Linked DNA regions of Homo sapiens: all the other regions are linked to region 1. The links are contacts of gene promoters, found by promoter capture Hi-C in blood cells and fetal thymus (Javierre and others, 2016). All regions are on one chromosome and are shown on one strand. The core of a region is centred on a gene start or on the middle of the fragment in contact, and the rest is flanking DNA. Distances in the headings are between cores, read along the strand shown. Region 1 holds the start of LRFN5 (leucine rich repeat and fibronectin type III domain containing 5). Region 2 overlaps LOC105370461 (a long non-coding RNA gene). Region 3 overlaps LOC105370461 (a long non-coding RNA gene). Region 4 overlaps LOC105370461 (a long non-coding RNA gene). Region 5 overlaps LOC105370461 (a long non-coding RNA gene). Region 6 overlaps LOC105370461 (a long non-coding RNA gene).

What was found. Contacts are between HindIII fragments. The CHiCAGO score rates a contact against its expected background, and 5 or more counts as called.
Region 2: a contact is called between a fragment that was not itself captured here and the fragment with the promoter of LRFN5 in region 1, in 1 of 17 cell types (M2 macrophages). The highest score is 6.4, in M2 macrophages.
Region 3: a fragment that was not itself captured here is called in contact with the fragment with the promoter of LRFN5 in region 1 in 1 of 17 cell types (M2 macrophages); the score reaches 6.6 in M2 macrophages.
Region 4: a contact is called between a fragment that was not itself captured here and the fragment with the promoter of LRFN5 in region 1, in 3 of 17 cell types (M1 macrophages, M0 macrophages and M2 macrophages). The highest score is 8.0, in M1 macrophages.
Region 5: a contact is called between a fragment that was not itself captured here and the fragment with the promoter of LRFN5 in region 1, in 1 of 17 cell types (naive CD8 T cells). The highest score is 10.1, in naive CD8 T cells.
Region 6: a contact is called between a fragment that was not itself captured here and the fragment with the promoter of LRFN5 in region 1, in 1 of 17 cell types (naive CD8 T cells). The highest score is 6.2, in naive CD8 T cells.

What each region holds. Positions count from the first base shown.
Region 1 is chr14:41,605,302-41,609,086 of GRCh38, forward strand. It overlaps LRFN5 (leucine rich repeat and fibronectin type III domain containing 5), which reads left to right and starts at 1,575. Exons shown (of 6, transcript NM_152447.5): 1 at 1,575-3,261. The HindIII fragment of the contact is 1,232 bases long and covers 1,206-2,437 here.
Region 2 is chr14:39,439,201-39,442,985 of GRCh38, forward strand. The region is part of intron 1 of LOC105370461 (a long non-coding RNA gene); the gene reads left to right. Among named protein-coding and RNA genes, the nearest start is that of FBXO33, 8.7 kb to the left of the region's middle. The HindIII fragment of the contact is 8,991 bases long and covers 1-3,785 here.
Region 3 is chr14:39,457,168-39,460,952 of GRCh38, forward strand. The region is part of intron 1 of LOC105370461 (a long non-coding RNA gene); the gene reads left to right. Among named protein-coding and RNA genes, the nearest start is that of FBXO33, 27 kb to the left of the region's middle. The HindIII fragment of the contact is 9,042 bases long and covers 1-3,785 here.
Region 4 is chr14:39,474,878-39,478,662 of GRCh38, forward strand. All of the region lies in intron 2 of LOC105370461 (a long non-coding RNA gene), which reads left to right. It overlaps LOC105370460 (a long non-coding RNA gene), which reads left to right. Exons shown (of 3, transcript XR_001750731.2): 1 at 1-78. Among named protein-coding and RNA genes, the nearest start is that of FBXO33, 44 kb to the left of the region's middle. The HindIII fragment of the contact is 4,354 bases long and covers 1-3,785 here.
Region 5 is chr14:39,569,859-39,573,643 of GRCh38, forward strand. The region is part of intron 2 of LOC105370461 (a long non-coding RNA gene); the gene reads left to right. Among named protein-coding and RNA genes, the nearest start is that of FBXO33, 140 kb to the left of the region's middle. The HindIII fragment of the contact is 7,780 bases long and covers 1-3,785 here.
Region 6 is chr14:39,591,639-39,595,423 of GRCh38, forward strand. The region is part of intron 2 of LOC105370461 (a long non-coding RNA gene); the gene reads left to right. Among named protein-coding and RNA genes, the nearest start is that of FBXO33, 160 kb to the left of the region's middle. The HindIII fragment of the contact is 651 bases long and covers 1,361-2,011 here.

The DNA.
Region 1 (3,785 bases), core at 325-2,824:
GCTCGGAGTTTGGCCTTCCAGCTCTCCAACTCAGATCCTGAGCCTCCTAAGCTCCCGCGGAGACCCTGAAGTCCCGGATCTGGCGCCGCTCGCCGACCTGGAGGGAGGCTGCACCGCTGAAGTGCAGTCTCGGAGCTGCGCTCCTCTGGAACAAAGCAGCCAGACGTGGCTTGAGTGGATTCCTAAGCCAAGGATTGGATCCGGAGTACCAGGGGCAGAGAGGGGGAGCAGAGGAAAGAAAGGAGATGTGAGGAGTTTCCACCTAAAGCACTTCACTCCTCGTGTTCTTCCCCGACAGAGATAGCTGTGTGGTTCTTCCTTACGCGTGGGTGCAGGTGTGCGCGCTTGGGGTGAGCCCATGGTTGTGCTCGAGTATACGGGCGCCTGTGCACCTCCAGGGCAATGGTAAAGCCTGGCAGAGCTCTTTTTGGAACAAAATGAAGGAGCTCCATATCCACGGAGGCCACCCGTATGGGCCTTTGCCAAGTAGGGCAGAAGAAGCCCTTGTTAGCCAGCTTCCCTTTGCAACTTCCTACTCTTCCTTTGGGTACAGACTGGTGTCTGGGCTAGCTAGGATCACAGCTGAGAGCGAAGGTGCTCTCAGTGTCCGAAGACCACGTGCTGGTGAACCCACAATGAGAAGCGAAAGGGTTTCAGGACTCTAGCAGAAAGGAAGAGCAAGATTTCACTCAGGGTTTCTTAGAAGAAAGAGTTAACTTTGCTCACTGGCTTTTCCAGGATGGAGGGAGTGGGGATAGGGTCGGGGAGAGAAGCATTGGGAGTCTTGTCGGAGTCTCAAGCAAAACCAGGCGAGGGCTCCGGGCAGATCCATTCCCGCAGGGCCCTGTCTAACCTCCTTTCCAGTCGCACCTCTTTCCTGCTTTAGACCCTGCGTCTGTGCCGGTGACCTTAGAGACTAGGTCTGGCTTATGAAGACTGTTGGGCTCCCTTTCTGCCCTTCACATAGTAAAATGTGACCAACTGCAGTATTCGTAATGTCTGATGCTGAGCTGAGTTGATTCCCAAATATAAATGTTCTTTTCAGAATCCGCTCCCATCTGATTAGTAAGCAAATCACCACCCACAACTAAGGGGACAGCGGAAGCCAGCCTCAGATGACTGAAACCCCCAAGTCAGTAGCTCTCCTCAAAATTTCCGGCGGGTTATTATAGATAATGACTTTTCCCACCGCCCTAAGCAGCCGAAGCTTGACTCAGTGATGATTCTCTCTATCCCGTAACTGCGAGGAAGTGGGCGATCAGCAAATTGCCCTTTTGCAGGAGGCTGGGGACGCCCCTGGAAGTTCGCTTTCATTCTCCAGGTTTTCTGCCTTTTCCCTTCCCCCTTCCTGCAACGCCCCCGCGCCTCCTCAGCCTGGGGATTTCCTGGCGCTTCGCCGGCCCTCTCCGCAACCCCCTGATAAATCGGTTCAGAACCAGTCTGGCTGGGAGGCCCGAGGGCTGACAGCAGCGGAGCGGCCCCGGCCGGGGTCTCACGGACTCTCGGGGTCTGGCCGACACGGCCGCTCCCGTCACTGCAGCGCGGGCTGAGCTCACGGCCGCGCGCCCGCCGCCGCCGCCGCCGCCGCCTTCATGCTGCAGCGCAGGGCTCAGTTCCACGCGGCCAGGAGGCCGCCGTTGCCCACACGCGACGCTTTGGGAAGCCCAGCTCCCGGGTCCGCCCCGGCCGCGGCCGCAGCCCCGGACCTCGGCTGCTTGCCTCGCGCCTGAACTGCGGACTCGCCCCAGCGCGGTGGCCAGCGGGCGGGGCGCTGTGTTCCGCGGCGCGCAGGGAGGCGGTGAGCGTGTGCAGAGCTGCCCGAACGGAGGACTATGTATGTGTGTGCGCGTGTTTGCGTGTGTTTGAGCGTGTTTTTCCTTCTTCCCTTGAGGATGTGAATTGTTTAGCAGCTGGCTGCTCCCTTAGGATCCTTGACTTTGGGGAGCTCTGGCTGTGAACACAGCCCACCCATATAATCCATTTTGCACGGTCCGTTATATCAGAAAAAAAAAGCGCAACTGGACGGGGGTGGGGCAGACCAACGAAACCTAGACAGACACACACACACTCAGAGGAGAGAGGAAGAATTGAAAGACTTGAGAAGACTTTGATAACCTCCCTGCTGGCCCTTCTGTGTTCCGGAAAGATCCTGGATGTTGGCTACCTTTTCAAGTCATCTTGGCATGTCTCTAGTGTTTTGTAAGCCGCTTTCCAGCTAGCTGCGTGTGTGTGTGCGCGCGCGTGTGTACGCGCGCGCCTATCTGATGCATTTGACTGTCTTTTATCCAACTGCCCAGAAGCAAATGTGTTAACTCGGCGATGCCCCTTCATGCCCGGGTTCTTGCAGAGCTCTGAGGACGCCCAGACCCATTTTCCTGGCTGGATTTGGAGCGGCTGCTGGGCTGTGGACCCAGGTGTGTGGATCGCTTTACCCAGAAGCTTGGAAAGCGCCAATATTAACCTGCTTCCAGGTACATCACAAGGTCAAGAGAGTGTCTTGCAGCCCTCTTGTTTCCGTGTATCTACACCTTCTTCTCTTGGCCAGAAGGATATTTACGTTTTGGTTCACAGCATTTGAAGCCAAAAGTTCAGCCCTTCGAACTGGTTTGCTATACAAAACAAAACAAAACAAATAAGGTAATGAGGATTGCTTATTAAACTGCTTAACAAAATCCCCGACTCTTCCTCAGCCCTTTCTCGGCTCCCTCCTCCCCACCAAAATGTCACCAGCTCTTGAATTACGTGGATTCGGGTTGGAGGAGAACTTGAAGGAAACGTGATTAAAGGGCTATGCGAGAACGCTCTCTTTGCTGCCCGCGGTCCGGTGGGCTTCGAAGCCAATCGTGAGAAGGACCGGTTCCCTCCGTGCTGCTTCCTCCCCGTGCAGTGCTGGGTGTGCGTGTGCGAGTGTGAGTGCAAGTGCGCGCGCGCCCGGGTGCGAGTGTGTGTGAGTGTGAGCGTGTGTCTGTGTGTGCGTGCGCGGCCGCCCTGCCTCTGCCCGCTCCCCGGGCGCGGAGCCGCGGGTTTCATGGGGCGATTGCAGCGATTCCCCCACCCAGAGCGACCTGCGGGCAGCGGCGGCAGTGGCAGGAGCCGCCTTTCCGATTCCCTACGATGCGGGTGCTGAGCTATGGCAAAGGGCAGCGAAGTGACGAGCGAGACCCGCGTACGACTGTGAAAGCCACCTGGAGCCACCTTGCCGGGATTGTACCTGCAGGCAGAAAGTCTTCCTACGACCGTCTTTTCCCTTAGAGGCACCAGGTAACAAACCAACGATTACTCGCCTCACCCAATTTCCTTTTGATCTTGTTTCTAGTGTCTTATCTGCATTGCAGGCTACTTTACTTATTAATGTTTTGAAAATCATTGGGAAGGGTTGGGTATCCAAGGGCGCCTGCTCTGTGATTTTGTAATACGATTTCTAGTAGGTGAAATATAAATCTATACCTAAGCACTTAATCTAGTAGTGAAAGCTTTGAGAATATGGATGTGCTCCACCCTGAGGATATTTTTTGAGAGCTAGGCGTGTGGAACCTGTCTGAAGATGCCAGAGATCAAAATTCTGTGTTTCCTTCAGGCTGTGGTTGCCACGGACCATTTGGTACCCAACCCTTTCCAGATTGTGAAGTGTGAGTGGGTGTTTGGTTTCCACCCATCATTTAAACCAAAGATCTTTTCTACCCTTTTCTACCTCTGGTGCCAGGTTGTTTTCCTTTCCTTGTTGTGGAGGAGCTTGCCAGATCTTTTTAGTAGTTGTAAATTACGCATCTGGAGACTTTGACTCG
Region 2 (3,785 bases), core at 446-2,945, 2.2 Mb before region 1:
GAGATAGTTTGACATCTTTTCCTATTTGGATGCCTCTTTAGGTAATTTCAAATTATATGCCTTTACTTACACTTTTTTCTCTTCTTTTTTTTGAGAACAGGTCTCACTCTGTTGCCCTGGCTGGAGTGCATTGACAGGATCATGGCTCACTGCAGCCTCAACCTCCCAGCTCAAGCAATCCTCCTGCCTCAGCCTCCCAAGTAGCTAGGATTATAGGCAGGCACCACCACACCTGGTTAATTTTTAAATTTTTTGTAGAGATGGGGTCTTCAACTCCTGGCCTTAAGCAATCCTCCCACCTTAGCCTTTCATAGTGCAAGGATTACATGTATGGGCCACTAGGCCCAGCCGCTACCTGTGCTTTTTAACTGATTAACTTTAGACATCATCTGTTTACTCCCTTTTTGTAAAATATGAAGATGTATTTCAATTACATTACTCTCTTTCCCTCTTCCATATTCCTACCAATATTTGATAATCGTAATATTTTGTTTTTCTCTTGGTTTTTTTTTTGGAGATGGAGTCTTGCTCTATTGCCAAGGCTGGAGTATAGTGATGTGATCTTGGCTCACTGCAGCCTCCATCTTCTGGTTCAAGCAATTCTCCTGCCTCAGCCTCCTGAGTAGCTGGGACTCCAGGTGTGCATCACCACACCTGGCTAATTTTTGTATTTTTAGTGGAGATGGGTTTCACCATGTTGGTCAGGCTAGTTTTGGACTCCTGGCCTCAAGTAATCTTCCTGCCTCAGCCTTCCAAAGTGCTGGGTTTATAGGCATGAGCCACCGTGTCCAGCCTCTTGGTTGTTCTTACATTAATCAGCTTTTGCTACATAGCAGTCACAATCTTCTGTCTATAATTGGCTAGATTATAGTATGTTAGATAAATATTAGGCAAATATTCACTTTTTTCCCCTTTACCCACCTTTATGGAAAAAGCATACTTTCTCCCATGATTATTGATGTTGGATTTGGGTCTTACGATTTGTGTAAAGTTAATTTTTCCTGTCTTTCGTTTATAAGAAGGGCTCTAATTAATAAAGATGCTAGTTTCTATAAAAGGGAAACCTGAAGATCTTAATGTCAACAAAATAGCCGTGTATTTTTTCACTCCTTTAACTGTCCACTGAAGGTGTTCTTAGCAGGCGGCTTTCCTTCATGTGATGATTCAGTGACCCTAATTCCTTCTGTTTTATAGTTATACCATCCTTAAAATGCCCTGTGATTCTCTGTCTCTTGTAATGGAAGGGGAAGAGAGAATGGAGAAGGCACTTCTTAATTGCCGTAGCAAGGAAATGACAGATTACTTCCTACATTCATTGGCTAAAACTAGACACATGGTCTTGCCTAGACATAAAGGGTCTGAGAGATGAAGTTTTGCCACAAAGGAGGCCTATCCTTTTATTACTATTTTTGGCTGAAGGTAAATACTAGGGTCCTTGTATTTGCTGTGGACAGAGATGGAAGAAAACGGTGGATTTGTTTAGTATAGTTTTCTTGTATTCAGATCTTTAGTTAATCTCTATTCCTAGCTAACCTTCTCACTCTTTCCTTAATGTTCCTTAGAGATAGTTCCTCAGGTGCACTGAACCCAGAATCTCTAAGGTTTCAGTGCACAGGACAGCTTTTATCTCAATTGCAGCTTCCTCCTAGTGATGGTGGCGGCTCATCTGGAGCAGCTGCTGCGGTGAAGGCCGCTGCAGTAGGAGGGGGTGCACCTGGGGCTGTGCCCTCTGTGGAGCCCGTAGGGGGTGGGAACAGGTGATCCCAGTGGAAGCCTCACACTCTACCAAATTGGTGGGGCAGGAGCCTGCACTTCTAGGTGCAGCTGTAACCACCCAGCCATGGCTCCAGACCTGGGCATCCCTGTGCTCTCTGGGGCCCAGGGAGCCTCTTGCCCCCGCAAGTTCGGAAGTGCCTGCTCCCACTCTCCCTGGCCTCTCCCTGCTCTCAGTTTCCACTCTGGTGTGGAGCAAAGTTATAGCTTAGCCCAGGCACTGTCGTGACCCAGCCAGGTGTGTGCATGCCTGGGGCAACACTGACACACCAACTCCCACTGCCGCCTTGAGCACTGATGAGCTCAGAGGGAGCTGAAACTCTGAAACTTTGGGCACTGATGAACTCAAGAGGGAGACCGGGGGTGCTGAGGGCAGCTTGGTGTGGGCCTGTGGGCTCCCCTCAGCATGGACAGCCTGGGCACAAATGGCATGTTGATGGCAACAGGAGGCAGACAGATTCCTAGGTGGGAAGGGGCAGGTCCTTGGTGAAACCCCGTCTTGAAGCCAGGGATGGCCTGAAGCCTGGGGGCCAGGCTGCCAATTACGGGTGGAGTCCGCGGCCCAGAGTGAGAACTTACGGTGCTTTTTCCATGCCTGCCCATGGCTACCCATGGATCAATCAGCATGCACTTCCTCCCTTCTGAGCCCATAAAAACCCTAGACTCATGCAGACTCAGATACTCTTCAGGATGACCTGCCAGTGGAAAGGAGCTACCCACTACACGTCTTCTCTCTACTGAGAGCTGTTCTGTTGCTCAATAAATCTCTGCCTTGTTCACCTTCCAGTTGTCCATGTTACCTCATTCTTCATGGACATGGGACAAGAACTAGGATATCACTGAATGGTAGGTGTGAAAGGAGCTGTAATGCTTTCCTGGCCCGCTTGCCAAGCTGCAGGCAGTGACACGCTCCTGGACTATGAGAGTGAAGAGTGGTAACCCTTCTGGGGACCCAGACCTTGGGATTTCCTGAGGTAGAGCTGCTGTAACACTGTAGCACTTCCACCCTTTGTTGGCGCCGGGTGGCCGCCCCATGCAGTGGGAAGCAGCAGTGGGGCTGGGCCAGCCACGGGCTGCAGTTGTGGTGGTGGGACTGAAAGAGCTATAACACAAATGGGCTTAAACACTCCCCACTGAAACTTGCTGCCATCCCCTGCTCTCTGCACTGCAGGCAATGAGAAGGAGAGAAGAGCTGTAGCCCTTCTGGAAGCCCAGACCTTGGGGCTTCCTAAGCCAGAGCTGTGACATGCTATAACACCCTCTTTGGATGCTCTGTGGTTCCTGGCATCTCCGGGCTTTTGGGCGCCACCTTGTTCCCCTCATCGAGACACTGGTCTTTGCAGCAGAAGCTGCTTGCAGTACATCTGGTCCAGCCAGAGCCTCACATGGAGCCAGTGCCTGTGCTGGTGCTTGGTGCTGCCCGCTCCGCAGCAGCAGCTGGTATGCCTGGCTGTGCGCAGTGGCCGGATTCCACACTGACTTGCTCATGCATCCCTTGTCACTGAGTGCTTGGCTCACCCTTAGTAGCCGTGGGATCCGGGCCAATAGTGAGAGCGAAGCGCAGCATGCTGGGTCGAGTGGGTGGAATAGTCCAGTGGGTGTGAGCGAACTCAAGCAGAGGCATCGCCAGCCACAGAAGTTTCCGTTTGGCAGAGCGACACCCAAAGGAGCATGGGTCACTAGTATGTTATGTTCTGCTTCAGTTGTCAATACACTCCTGTCCACTTTTTGCCTTTGAGGAAATATTTGGAATCTCTTAGTGGCAATGGTCATCTCTTTCCTAGCTGAGTTCTCTTCTTATTATACAGAGTCAAGTATCTATACATTGTTTTTAAATTTTAAGTTTCGGGAGTCAGAGGAAGTAAATCTAGAATATCTTCAATTAGTACCCTTAACAGAATTTTAATTTTTGAAAAAACATGTATTGCTTGAACAAGATGCATTTTCTATCCATGATGGACTGAGGATAAATAAATAGGGGGTTCTGGAGGATATGTAAAAAGGTATAATAT
Region 3 (3,785 bases), core at 524-3,023, 2.1 Mb before region 1:
TAAATAACTATTTATTGAGTGTCTACTGTGAGTCATGCATTGTTATAGGTGTTGGAGATAGAGTGGTGAACAAAGATTCTCTGCCATTACAGAGTGTTCTCGTGAGAGTAGATGGAAAGTGTATTAGTCTGTTCTCACATTGCTATAAAGAATTATAATCATGGTGGAAGGGGAAGCAAGCACGTCCTTCTTCACAAGATGGCAGAAGAAAGAAGTGCCGAGCAAAGGGGGAAAAAGCCCCTTATAAAACCATCAGATTTTGTGAGAACTCACTCACTATCAGGAGAACATGAGGGTAACTGCTCCCATGATTCAGTTACCTCCTACCGGGACCCTCCCATGACATGTGGGGATTGTGGGAACTACAAGACGAGATTTGGGTGGGGACACAGCAAAACCACATCAGAAAATAAATTTATAATAGGTCGTAAGTACTACAGAGGAAAATAAAACAAGTTAAGGTGATGGGGGCAATTGCTCATTTAGGTAGGATGGTCAGGAAAGCCCTCTCTGATGAGATGATGTTTGAGCAGAAATCTGAAGGAGTAAAGAGAATAAAACATGTGGTTGTCTGGTTAGAAGACAAGTCTAGGCAGTGAGAACAGCAAGTGAAAAAGCCCTGAGGTTGAAACATACTTGTGTATTCATAGAATACTGAGAAGGCCATTGGGAATGGACCATTATAAGCAAAGAAATAGTAGTAGGAGTTGAGGTCAGAGAGTTAGCAAGTGGGACAAGATCATTTAGGGGCCTCTAGGCCATGGCAAGGGCATTTTTTTTTTTCTTTCCTGGGGATGATAGACATTGGAGGGTTTTGAGCAGGGAAATAAAACATTGTGACTTACAATGTAAAATGATAAGTCTTGTTGCTATTAAATTTCCAAACAAAACTATCAAGTAGGTAGTTAATATTGAAGTCTGAAGTTCAGGGGAGAAACCTGGGCTGGAGATAAAAAGTATGAATGTATAATTTGTTGTCAACATATAGATGATATTTAAATCCATCTCAAATGTTCTTAACTGACTCTCTTGCTTGGAAAAATTTAGGGTGTATTGTTCCAAAATTTTTTATATTTAAATCTTTAATCCACCTGGAATTTTGGAACATAGTTTGATATCACATTCCAGTATTTTTTTTCCATATAGATAACAAACACTATCAAATTAACCATTCTTTTCTCCATATGTATAACCAGCCTCATTTATTACGCTATTTTTTCCCAATGAATTTTTGTATATAAAACTCTCCTGTATACTGGTATCTATTTTTGTATTCGCTACTCTTTCCATGGTCTGTTTGCTCAATCCCAAACCACTTTTCCTATTGATTTGATTGCAGAGGCTTTATTATATGTGTCTGATTAGGTTTGTCCCTCTTTACCCTTCTTATATTTTATACTTTTTGGGAGTATTCTCAGGCATTTTTTCTTTCATATGAATTTTAACATAATTTTATTAAACGAACAAAATACTACATTTGATTTATATGAATTTTGAGAATTCATATAAATTTTGACATGAATTTTACAATTTATGTCTTTCCAGTGTTCCATGGCTAAATAACAATAACTGTTATAACATTATTAGGTTTTGTTTTCTTCATGTAGGTTAAGATTTTGTTTTCTTCATATAGGTTCTGTGTTTTCCTTGTTTACATTTATTACTACTGTACCCCTATTATAGTTTTAGCTGTTATTGTAAGAGGAAAAATTTTCACCTTTTCCTCTTTTGGTTACTGGTTCCAAGTACAAAAAAGTTCTTGATTTTTCTAAATTTAACTTTACTGTAGTCATCTTACCAAATTCTTATTATTAAATCAGGATGCTTTCATTGGTATATTTTCTAAATATATAATCATGTAATCATTAATTTCCTTTTCAGTGTCCATATAAATTACTTCATTTTTGGTCTAATTTCTCTTTATCATGCTTTTTTTGTTACCTTTGCCCCCTTTTTTCATATTTTTAAAACAATTTATTCTGCAAAAATTTCTTGAGCACGTTTTTGTGTGTCAAGTGCTTTATTGGTGCTAGAGATTCAATAATGAACAAAAAGGACAAAATCCCTGTGTGATGGAACTCTATTATTTGCTTCCTGACATTAATTGAAATGACTTAGTGTTTTATTGTTTAGTATATTTTCTGTAGGCTGTGGTGAATAGACTATCATATTTATATAGTTTTCTTTTAGGCCTATATTTCTTAAAGTTTTTATTAGGAATAACTGCTGAATTTTATTTGACTTGTTTTCATCAGCTGATAATATGATAATCTGGTTTGTCTTTTATTGCTTTTTATGGATTATTGATTTTAAAAATTGTTCTCTAATCAAGTATTATTCATTTAGTATTAAGGCAATATGTCTTACTTGATACTGTGTACTTAGCATGCTAGTTACTATCTTTAATTAACAAGTATCATGGATTGTGTTTTCCAAAAATGAACACAACCATAACTCCTATTCCACTGGGTTTTCTTACAGTATAACTTTGAACTTTTTATATTGAGAGGTAGCGTTTTTATACTGAGAGGTAGCGTCTCTGTTCTCTCTCCTTGAATCTGGGTGGGAGTGTGACTATAGCAGAAGTGGCACTATGTGATTTCCAAGACTATATCATAAATGATGATATAGCTTCTCTTCTTGGATACATGGTTTGTGGAACTTAGACACCATTATGTGAGCAAGTCCAAAGAGCCCATGGAGAGGCCATATGTAGGTATTAATACTGACAGTCCCAGCTGAGAGCCCAGCTTACAGCTACATCAACCACCAGTCATATGAATGAATGAACTTCTAGGTGATTTCAGCTCCCAGCTCTTGAGTCACTTTCAGCCTTCAAGTGTTCCCACCTGAGGCCCCAGACATTGTGAAACAGAGATAAGCCAACCTGCTGTACCCTTTCCGAATTCCTGACTCACATAATCTGTGAGACCCACAGTGAAATGGTGGTTGCTTTATGTTTTAAATTTGGGATGGTTTTTATATGGTAATGAGTAACTGAAACAAGAAAAGGACAATTTATATACAAAATTAATAATTTTCCCCTCATTTTTATATAACACACATTAACTGTATTATGCAATCATCTGTAACAATACTGCCAACTTCATGTGGTGCAAAGAGTATCTGGAGTCAGCTGAGCAAGATTCAGGTTACAGAACAACAGTAAAATATGTGTTTTATTTTGAGAAGTTCAAGTAATCTCTCCAAGTTTGCTTTTCTTTAAAATGGTGAGGAATATTATCAACATAACTTGATAATGATGTTAATGTAGAACAAGTAGTCATCAGTGAGTATTTTAAAGAGTCATTTGAGATTTTCAGTACACAAATATAATCAATTACAGGTATTTTGTTAACAAAACCTTAATATTAATACAGAATGTGCTAAACTAACAGGCAAACAGGAACACCATAAAACTGTAATTCTTCTCCCTTTCTCCCATAATCAGTACTAGAGGCTGGTCATTATTTTAATAAGGAACAGATTGTAAGCCCATTCATTTGCATATGGACTTTTGATACCTCCTTTTAAGACTTCCATATACCTTCTTTGTATCCTTTCTAATTTATAGACATTAATGGTCCTAGCTATGTATTTGGTATGTAACAGTTAATAGACATTAATAGTCCTATCTATCTATTTGATATGTAAAAGTTAGACAGATTGTTATTTTCAAAAGCTGTATTCAGGAAGTCTTGGCAGGTATATAGAGGTATTTACTTGCTATATATAGCATAGAAATAATAAAATTTTTCCCTCAGTGAGGTTTCTTCACCAGGATA
Region 4 (3,785 bases), core at 379-2,878, 2.1 Mb before region 1:
GACAGTTACAGAAGCCATGTGTAGGTGTTCTGGCTCCAGCAAAAGTCTTATCTGACAACATCAACTACATGTTAGTGGGTGAGTATTCGTATGATTTTAGTCCCCAGACTTTGAGACACCCTAGCTGATGCTGAGGGGAGCAGAGATGAAGTATCCCCCTGAGACCTGTCCACATATTGTTGTTTTGGGTTACTAAGTATTGGAGTAATTTTTAAATATAGCCATAGTAACTGAAATAATTAGGTTCATAGTTTTTAGGTTTATTTTTATGTTAACTTTTGGTAATAAAATTATGTTGGCTTTGTGAAATGAATTGGGAAACATTTCATCTTTTTATTTGGTATGAAATAATTTAAATAACACTATAAATACCCATTCTTTAAAAGTTAGGTAAAACTCAGATTTAAAGGTTTTTTTGGGTATAATGCTATTATTACTATTGTTATTTAAAATAATGGTTACCTTTCCATTTTTTTCTTTGCTAATTAGTCATTTTGGGTCTGCTTCTTGGTTCAATTTGGATTATTTGTATTCTCTAGGAAATTGTACATTTTTCTTTATTCCTAGTCTTGCTAATATTTTTTTCCCTCTTATATTTTTAAGCAGTACCATAAAGGGTTTATTTATATTTTTAGTTAAAAAAACTCTTGGAATTATTTATCAATTCTACTACTTTTTCCCCTTATATCACCAATTACAACTGTTCATTGATCAACTCATTCACTCTTCGCTTTTCTTAAAAAAGTTCAGGTAAACATGATAATGTTTCTGCAGTTTCATTCTTCTTCGTAATGAAAGGATTTAGGGGCATAAATTTTTATCTAACTGTGGCTATTGCTGGGTTCCATACATTTTTATGTAAAGTATTTACCTTTTCAGTAGCCTCTAGAGTATTTGTAATTTTTCTCTTTGATCAAAACTTAATTTTGAAGTCATTACGATGTTTCAAGCTGTTTAAAAATTATTTGTAATATTATTGTATTATGATCAATGACTATGGCCTGTTACATGTTTACTTTGAAATATTTGTTATGTTTTACTTTGTGGAAATTTCTATAAAACTATGAGCAAATATAATTCTTTCATTAAGGAAAATAAGATTCTATACATAGGTAGAAAACAAATCTTTTTTTTTTCTATATTTTACTTTAAATTCCAGGATACATATGCAGAACATGCAGGTTAGTTACATAGGTATACATGTGCCATGGTGGTTTGCTGCATCTGTCAATCCATCGTGTAGGTTTTAAGCCCTGCAAGCATTAGGTATTTGTCTTGATGCTGTCCCTCCCCTCACCCCCTACTCCACGGCAGGCACTGGTGTGTGTTGTTCCCCTCCCTGTGTCCATGTGTTCTCATTGTTCAACTCCCACTTATGAGTGAGAACATGCAGTGTTTAGTTTTCTATTCCTGTGTTAGTTTGCTGAGGATGATGGCTTCCATCTTTGTATGTCCCTGCAAAGAACATGATCTCCTTCTTTTTATGGCTGCATAATATTCCATGGTGTATATGTACCACATTTTCTTTATCCAGTCTATCATTGATGGGCATTTGGGTTGGTTCCATGTCTTTGCTATTGTAAGTAGTGCTGCAGTAAACATACGTGTGCATGTGTCTTTATATTAGAATGATTTATATTCCTTTGGGTATATGCCCAGTAATAGGATTGCTGGGTCAAATGGTATTTCTGGTTCTAGATCCCCGAGGAATCGCCACGCTGTCTTCCACAATGGTTGAACTAATATACATTTGCACCAACAGTGTAAAAGCATTCCTATTTCTCCACAGCCTTGCCAGCATCTATTGTTTCTTGGTTTTTTAATAATCACCATTCTGACTGGTGTGAGATGGTATCGCATTGTGGTTTTGATCTGCATTTCTCTAATGATAGTGATGTTGAGCTTTTTTTCATGTTTCTTGGCCACATAAATACTGTCTTTTGAGAAGTGCCTGTTCATATTCTTTGCCCACTTTTTGATAGGGTTATTTTTTTCTTGAAATTTAAGTTCGTTGTAAATTCTGGATATTAGACATTTCTCACATGGGTAGATTGCAGAAATTTTCTCCCATTCTGTAGGTTGCCTGTTCACTCTGATGGTAGTTTCTTTTGCTGTGCTAAAGCTCTTTAGCTTAATTAGATTCTATTTGTCAATTTTAGCTTTCGTTGCAATTGCTTTTGGTATTTTAGTCATGAAATCTTTGCCCATGCCTATGTCCTGAATGCTGTTGCCTAGGTTTTCGTCTAGAGTTTTTATGGTTTTGAGTTTTACATTTAAGTCTTTAATACATCTTGAGTTAATTTTTGTATAAGGTATAAGGAAGGGGTCCAATTCCAGTTTTCTGCATACGGCTAGCCAGTTTTCCCAACACCATTTATTAACTAGGGAATGCTTTCCCCATTGCTTGTTTTTGTCAGGTTTGTCAATCAGATGGTTGTAGATCTGTGGCATTATTCCTGAGTTCTCTGTTCTGTTCTATTGGTCTATATGTCTGTTTTGGTGCCAGAACCAGGCTGTTTTGGTTATTGTAGCCTTGTAGCATAGTTTAAAGTCAGGTAGCGTGATACCTCCAGCTTTGTTCTTTTTGCTTAGGATTGTCTTGGCTATATGGGCTCTTTTTTGGTTGCATATGAAACTTAAAGTAGTCTTTTCTAATTCTGTGAAGAATGTCAGTGGTAGTTTGATGGGAGTAGCACTGAATCTATAAATTACTTTGGGCAGTATGGTCATTTTCAGGATATTGTTTCTTTCTATCCATGAGGATAGAATGCTATTTCATTTGTTTGTGTCCTCTCTTATTTCCTTGAGCAGTGGTTTGTAGTTCTCCTTGAAGAGATTCTTCATGTTCCTTGTTAGCTGTATTCCTAGGTTTTTGTTTTTTTTTTTTTTGAGACAGAGTTTGCTCTGTCGCCCAGGCTGGAGTGCAGTGGCGTGATCTCGGCTCACTGCAACCTCTGCCTCCTGGGTTCAAGCGATTCTTCTACCTCAGCCTCCTGAGTAGCTGGGACTGCAGGCATGCACCACCACGCCCGACTAATTTTTTGTATTTTTAGTAGAGATGGGGTTTCATCTGTTAGCCAGGATGGTCTCGAACTCCTGACCTCGTGATCTGCCTGCCTTGGCCTCCCAAAGTGCTGGGATTACAGGTGTGAGCCACTGTACCGGGACCATTCCTATGTATTTTGTTCTCTTTGTATCAATTGTGAATGGGAGTTCATTCATGATTTGGCTCTCTGCTTGTATATTGTCGTATAGGAATGCTTGTGATTTTTGCACATTGATTTTGTATCCTGAGACTTTGCTGAAGTTGCTTATCAGCTTAAGGAGTTTTTGGGCTGAGATGATGGGGTTTTCTAAATATAGAATCATGTCATCTGCAAACAGAGACCATTTGACTTCCTTTCTTCCTATTTGAATACCGTTTTTTTCTTTCTCTTGCCTGATTGCCCTGGCCAGCACTTCTAATACTATGTTGAATGGGAGTGGTGAGAAAGGGCATCTTTGTCTTGTGCCAGTTTTCAAAGGGAATGCTTCCAGCTTTTGCCCATTCAGTATAATGTTGGCTGTGGGTTTGCCATAAATGGCTCTTATTATTTTGAGATATGTTCCATCAATACCTAATTTATTGAGAGTTTTTAGCATGAAGCGATGTTGAATTTTATTGAAGGACTTTTCTGCATTTAATGAAATAATCATGCTCTTTTTGTCTTTAGTTCTATTTACGTGATGAATTAAGTTTATTGGTTTGTGTATGTTGAACCAGCCTTGTATCCCAGGGATAAAGC
Region 5 (3,785 bases), core at 784-3,283, 2.0 Mb before region 1:
CCTGAAAGGACACCACTGCTGTGCTGCTGAGCCTGTGCTGTACTTTGCATCATTAACAGCAGTATTAATGGACCCTGGATTGGGGCTACTAGCACTGCTGCCATTGCTACCCCAGGAATATTATCATGGTCCAACTCCTGTCATTGCCAGAGTAAATTGCTCACATTGTCCCCTACTTTGCATCACTTCTTTACAGTTCAAGATCCAAGCGATGCATTTGATAAGTGCAAAGTGGGTCTTAAGTCCATGCTCTTGCTGCCAGGGCCACTAAGGAGGTGAGTATGTGGCATTTTCTTTTTTATAGTGTGTGGCAGTCTCTGCCACTTACCTCATACCTTCCTTCATAAGGTGGAGAAAATCAAAACATAGGAAGTAGGTTGTGGCAAATACTATAGGCTGGCTCACTCAATACCCATTCCAATCTTCTGCTAGATTGATCTTCACCTAGGAAGTGATGAATTATGTTCCTAGGTTCCATAGCTGCTGCAGAGTTGTACAAGACTGCAACTGGAGCCAAGTCACCTGATGTGGTGGTTGCATGCAGGGAGACTAGAGCTTATGTAAGCATGCTTGTGAAGGTGACTTGAGCATTTTTTTCTTTTCTGTTTAAAATTGACACATAATAGACATACATATGATATTTTGATACATTAATATGTAACGATCAAATCAAGGTAATTGGTGTATTTATTACTTTAAACATTTACCTTTTCTTTATGCTGGGAATGTTCAAATTATTCTCTTCCAGCTATTTTGAAATATACACCACATTATTGTTTACTCTAGTCAACCTACTGATTTATTGAACACTAGGTCTTTTTTTAAAAATTGATAAATAATAGATGTCCATATTTTCAGGCTACTTGTGATAATTTGATACATTCATATAACTAAGTCAGGGTAATTGGAATATTCATCACCTTATATATTTATCTGTTCTTTATGCTAGAAACATGCAAATTATTCTCTTCTAGCTATTTTGAAATGCACAATAGATTAATGTTTGTAGCATCACGCTACTGATACATCAAACACCAGGTCTTATTTCTTGTTTCTAATGGCATATTTGTACCTGTCAATTAACCTCTATTCATCCCTTCCTCACTGACCCTTCCTGGCCTCTGATAACCACTAATCCACTCTATCTTCATGTGATCCAATTTTTAGCTCCCATATATGAATGACAATGTGCAATATTTGTCTTTCTGTGTTTGGCTTATTTCACTTAACATAATAACCTCTACTTCCATCCATGTTGCTGCAAATGACAGGATTTTATTATTTTTAATGGCTGAATGACATTCCATTGTATATATATAAAACCACATTTTCTTTATTCATCCATTGATAGGTACTTAGGTTGATTCCATATTTTGCCTATTGTGGATTAATGCTACAATAAACATGGGAGTGCAGATATTTTATTGATATATTGTTTCATTTCTTTTGGCTATATACCCAGTAGTGGAATTACTAGATCACGTGATAGTTCTGTTTTCAATTTTTTGAGGAACCTCCATACTGATTTCTATAGTCGCTGTACTTTGCATTCCTCAGCATGTACAAGGGTTTCCTTTTCTCCACATCCTTGCCAGTATCCATTATTGCCTGTTTTTTTTAATAAAAGCCACTCTAACTGGGGTCAAATGATATCTCACTGTGGTTTTGATTTGCTTTTCTCTGATGATTAGTGATATTGAACTTTTAAAAAAATACTTTTTGGCCATTTGAATGTCTTCTTATAAATATTTATTCAGCTCTTTCACCCAATTTTTAATTGGATTTCTTTTTTGCAATTGAGTTGTTTCAGCTCCTTATATTTTCTGGTTATTAATTCCTTGTCAGATGAATAGTTTGCTAATATTTTTTCTTATTCTGTGGGTTGTCTCCTTACTTTACGATTGTTTCCTTTGTGGTGCAGAAGCCTTTTAGCTTGATGTAATCCTATTTGTCTTCTTTGCTTTTGTTGCCTGTGCTTTTGAAGTTTTACACAAGAAAAATCTTTGCTCAGGCCAATGTCCTGCAGCATTTCCCCAACATTTTCTAATGTTTTCGTATTTTCAAGTCTTAGATTTAAGTCTTCAATCCATTTTGATTTTATTTTTGTATATAGTGAGAGATAAGTGACTAGGTTTATTCTCTATATGGATATCCAGTTTTCCCAGAAGCATTTATTAAAGAGGCTGTCCTTGCCCCACTGTATGTTCTGGGAGCCTTTGTTGAAAGTGAATTGGCTGTAAATGCATGGATTTATATCTGAGTACTCTATTTTGTTCCATTGGTCTATGTATTTTTAAGACAGTACCATGTTGATTTGGTTATCATAGCTTTGTAGTATATTTTGAAGACAGGTAGTGTGATGCCTCTAGCTTCATTTTTTTCCCTCAGGGTTTCTTTGGCTCTCTTTTTGGTTCCATATACATTTTAGTTTTTTTTGTTTGTTTGTTTCTTTGAAGAATGACATTGGGGTTTTGATAAGGATTGCATTGAATCTGTCAATTTCTTTGGGTAGAATGGTCATTTTAATAATATCGATTCTTTTAATCCATGAGCATGGACTATCTTTCCATTTTTTTGTCCTCTTTAATTTTTTTCATCATAGTTTTATAATTTTCTTTGTATAATCATTCACATCTTTGCTCAATTGATTCCTAGGTATTTAAAGCTCTTTGTAACTATTCTAAATGGGATGGCTTTCTTAATTTTTTTTTCAGATTGTTTGCTGTTGAAGTATACAATCCAAGGATCTTTGTTGATTTTGTGTCCTGCAACCTTACTGAATTCATTTATCAGCTCTAACATGGTTTTTGTTTGTTTGTTTAGTGAAGTCTTTAGGTTTTGCTAAATATAAGATGATGTTGTCTGCATGCAAGGCTAATATAACTTCCTCCTTTCCAATTTGAATGTTCTTCATTTTTTTTCCCTTGACTAATTACTCTCGTGAGGACTTCAGTATTATGCTGAATAAAAATGGTAAAGTGGGCGCTCTTGTCTTGTTCTTAGATGTTTTTTGAAGTCTTTCCTCTAAGACATTTTTTTCCTGTTCAGTATGATGTTGGCTGTGGGTTTGTCATATATGACCTTTATTATTTTGAGGTATGTTCATTCTATACCCAGTTTTTAAAAAATTATAAAAGGATGTTAAATTTCATTGAATGCTTTTTTGGCATCTATTCAAATGGCCATATGGTTTTTGTTCTTGATTCTGTTAATGTGACCTATCATTTGTGTATGTAGTGCCATCCTTGCATCTCTGGGATGAATCTTACTTCATTATGGTCAATGATGTTTTTAATATATTGTTGAATTTGGCTTGCAGTATTTTGTTGAAAATTTTGGCATCTATGCTGATCAGTGGTATTGGCCTGTAGTTTTCTTTATTTAATTGTATCCTTGTCTTGTTTTGGTATCAGGATAATGCTGGCCTTGTAGAATGAGTGTGAAAGTGTTTCCTTCTCTTCATTTTTTTGAAGAGTTTGAATATAATTGATATTCATTCTTCTTTAAATATTTGATAGATTTCAGCATTGAAGCTGCTGGGCTTAGCTTTTCTTTGAGGGGAGATTTTTTTATTATGGCATTACTTGTTAATGGTTTGTTGAGGTTTTCTACTTCCTCATGGTTCAATCTTGGTAGGTTGTATGTGTCCAGGAATTTATCTATTTCTTCTAGGTTTTCCAATTTTTTGGCATATAGTTGTTCATAATAGGCTTTAATGATTCTTTGTGGGTTTTTTTTGTATTCTCAATTGTTATGTCTTCTTTTTCATTTCTGATTTTATTTAT
Region 6 (3,785 bases), core at 436-2,935, 2.0 Mb before region 1:
TTTCTTACATAGTATAATTTATGTATGTAATAAACATTAGTAGTAATACATGCCATTATCTGCCTTTAACCAAAGTTCTAAAACAGTGGTTCTCCCTTGTTATTTTGCAACACTTTGGGAGTGTTATGAAATTATAATATTAAAATGTTCCTACTAATATATAAAACACCTATGATATTATTGTGCCTTTTGGTGGGTGGGAATGAGGGTTTTGGATGTGGTCAAACTTCACTAAAAGTGTTAATAACCATGTAAGAGTGTGGAGAATATTTTTATTTATTTTGCTTTTTACCTATCCTCTGTAATGCCAAGTGTGAATAACTATTTGATAAAAATTGAAGAGAAACACGAGACTGAGGTTAAACAGGCTGAGTGAGGAGGCGGATGCAAATAGTGAGAGGAATAGCCTGATTTTTCCAAGGACAAGGATTTAGGCTGATGGGATGTATTATTCGGGGGCTGGGTGAGGCAGGGAGAGGAGGCTGAAATATGAGGAGAGGCTAAAGAAGGCAGAAATCTTCATTTTAAGAATCAGTGCTGTCTGTAACAAAAGAACCATTCCAGTGTCTCAAGGCAGCAGCAGGATGCTGTCTGTTCCAACAACTCATGGTAATTGGAGAAGGACGTTTCCCAGGCAGCTAAAAGTAAAGAAACAGAAAGGATTCTGCCTTATGGAAAAGCTCACTAACACAGAGACAGCAGAACAGGTGCGGGGCTGGAGGGCTTTGAAGATGTTGCAGAAGCAGGAAGCAGAGAGCATTGAGTTGTAGCATCCAGGCCCTACTCCCAGATTTGCTAGGGATGGTTGGCACTGTTACAGGGCCCAGTTCAAGTGCCTGAGAAAATGACTTCAGTGTGTGAGACATGCCAAGGGTTATACTATTTCTACCTTCTAGAATAGGGTGTAGGAAACTGGATGGGAGGGAAGGGTTGCACTGAATCAGCCAGAGGGCTGAGCTTTGCACCATGACCCTTCCCACTATGGCAATGATGTGGCATCTCACTGGCCAGCACATTGGTAATTTGAGTATGTCTTTTGTTATGTTCTCTGTATTTAGAATTAAGGGAGTTCAGACACTGTAAAGAGAAGGTGTAATATGTTAAGGCTTTTAAAATGTGAATTTTTTGGCATATATGGTGGAGAAAGCAAATGCTTAGTTGTGTGACAGGGATCAGAGTCTCCTTAGAAACTAATTAACAAAGTGTCCAGTATATTAATTATTTAAATTCATAAAATCATGGACTTGTATTAGATGATCTTTCAGGTTTTTTTCCATACATAAAGTTTCACAGTACTTCACACACTACAGTTTCTTTCTATATAGTCTATGATGACCTCTTCATTTTACCCTCAGACACAAGCTTTTACGGTTGGCCTTTTGTGGTCTTTTTTGGTATTGATAGTTTAGATTGAATTTTTGGTTCCTGGCATTTGGCTTACTTACTGATTTTTTTCTCATCTTGTGTCTCAAGAGAGCTTTCTTAAAATAAAATTCAGTCTCTCTTTTGTTTTCAGCATGATTGCATCTAATTATGTAATTAGGCTAAATACATGCAATCAGGAGCAAGTAATAAATATTAGATTCTAACTCTGTAAATTTTGTTTTTCGTAGTAAATGCCTCAGGGGCAGAGCTTTTTTATTTATGCCTGCTAATACCTTCCACAGTGTTGTACATGTACCAAGAACTCAGTAGTTATTTGTTGAATTAATGAAGTATTTTTAAGATGCAATGCAAATCTCATCTAAAAATATGCAAATTCTCTCGAGACGCTAGAAATATTTTTCAAAGTTATTTAAAGCCATATTATGTTTGGACCATGTACTGGTTTAGGCTAAATTGATTTATCAAGCTGTATGTTTGGCACAGTGGTGGCTATGACTACATTAGTTGTCTTGGAAGAAAAATGATTTTTATAGGTCATAAGTTAGGTCAGTTAGTCATCATAGATTTACTGTGTTTCTGACACTGTTTCCTTAGATTTGATCTGGCTTTTCTCTTGTACATTTGAAGCTTATTTAGGAGTGTGTCAGAACAAGCTGTCTCACCTGCCTGAATTGTTAGCCTTTAGGGCAGGGACAATGTTGTTATGTTATGTTCAGAGCAGGGCACAGGAGAGAGTTGCCTGGATCATAAAGAATGGTGATGAGCTCAAGTTGGTGACCTGGTTCCTCTGTTCAGACACTATGGGCTGGAAAGGATGTGCCATATTTCTCAGGGGTTTTTCCTAATAACCCCTCTGCAGCTATCCTGCACCTTGTTACAAAGTCTTCTTTTACATTACTTTGTAAACATGTACCTGTAATGTAACTTCCATTTTTCAAGCATTCCAATGTTACAAGCACATAAAAATACACCTTGTTTTATTTGTGTTTTTATACTCAATACCTAGCAAAATTCCTGGCATACGGAGAAGTTTGAAATGCTTGTTGAGTCAAATAGAGCTGGTGCCTGTGGCAGTGGATAATCAGGCAGTCGAAAGCAGATTAAAATCTCAAATCTAGGTGGATAAGCTGTTGATGTGCTGCTGGATTTGGTTTGCCAGTATTTTATTGAGGATTTTCACATCTATGTTCATCAGGGATATTGGCCTGAAACTTTCTTTTTTTGTTGTGTCTCTACCAGGTTTTGGTATCAGGATGATACTGGCCTCATAAAATGAGCTAGGGAGGATTCCCTCTTTTTCTATTGTTTGGAATAGTTTCAGAAGGAATGGTACTAGTTCCCTTTGTACTTCTGGTAGAATTCGGCTGTGAATCTGTCTGGTCCTGGACTTTTTTAGGTTGGGAGGCTATTAATTACTGCCTCAATTTCAGAACTTGTTATTGGTCTATTCAGGGATTCGACTTATTCCTGGTTTAGTCTTTGGAGGGTGTATGTATCCAGGAATTTATCCATTTCTTCTAGATTTTCTAGTTTATTTGCATAGAGGGGTTTATAGTATTCTCTGATGATCATTTGTATTTCTGTGGGATCAGTGGTGATCTCCCTTTGTCATTTTTTATTGTGTCTATTTGATTCTTCTCTCTTTTTTCTTCTGTATTAGTCTGGCTAGCAGTCTATTTTGTTAATCTTTTCAGAACACCAGCTCCTGGATTAATTGATTTTTTTGAAGGGTTTTTCGTGTCTCTATCTCCTTCAGTTCTGCTCTGATCTTAGTTATTTGTTGTCTTCTGCTAGCTTTTGAATTCGTTTGCTTCCTTCTATAGTTCTTTTGTGATGTTAGGGTGTTGATTTTAGATCTTTCGCGCTTTCTCCTGTGGACATTTAGTGCTATAAATTTCCATCAAAAAACTGCTTTAGCCGTGTCCCAGAGATTCTGGCACATGGTGTCTTTGTTCTCATTGGTTGCAAAGAACTTATTTATTTCTTCCTTATTTTAATTATTTACCCAGTAGTTGTTCAGGAGCAGGTTGTTCAGTTTCCATGTAGTTGTGCAGTTTTGAGTGAGTTTCTTAATCCTGAGTTCTAATTTGATTGCATTGTGGTCTGAGAGACTGCTTGTTATAATTTCTGTTCTTTTACATTTGCTGAGGAGTGTTTTACTTCCAATTATGTGATCAGTTTTAGAATAAGTGCGATGTGGTGCTGAGAAGAATATATATTCTGTTGATTTGGGGTGGAGAGGTTCAACATATGCAAATCAATAAATGTAATCCATCACATAAACAGAACCAATGACAAAAACCACATGATTATCTCAATAGATGCAGAAAAGGCCTTTGACAAAATTCAACACGCCTTCATGCTAAAATCTCTCAATAAACTAGATATTGATGGAACGT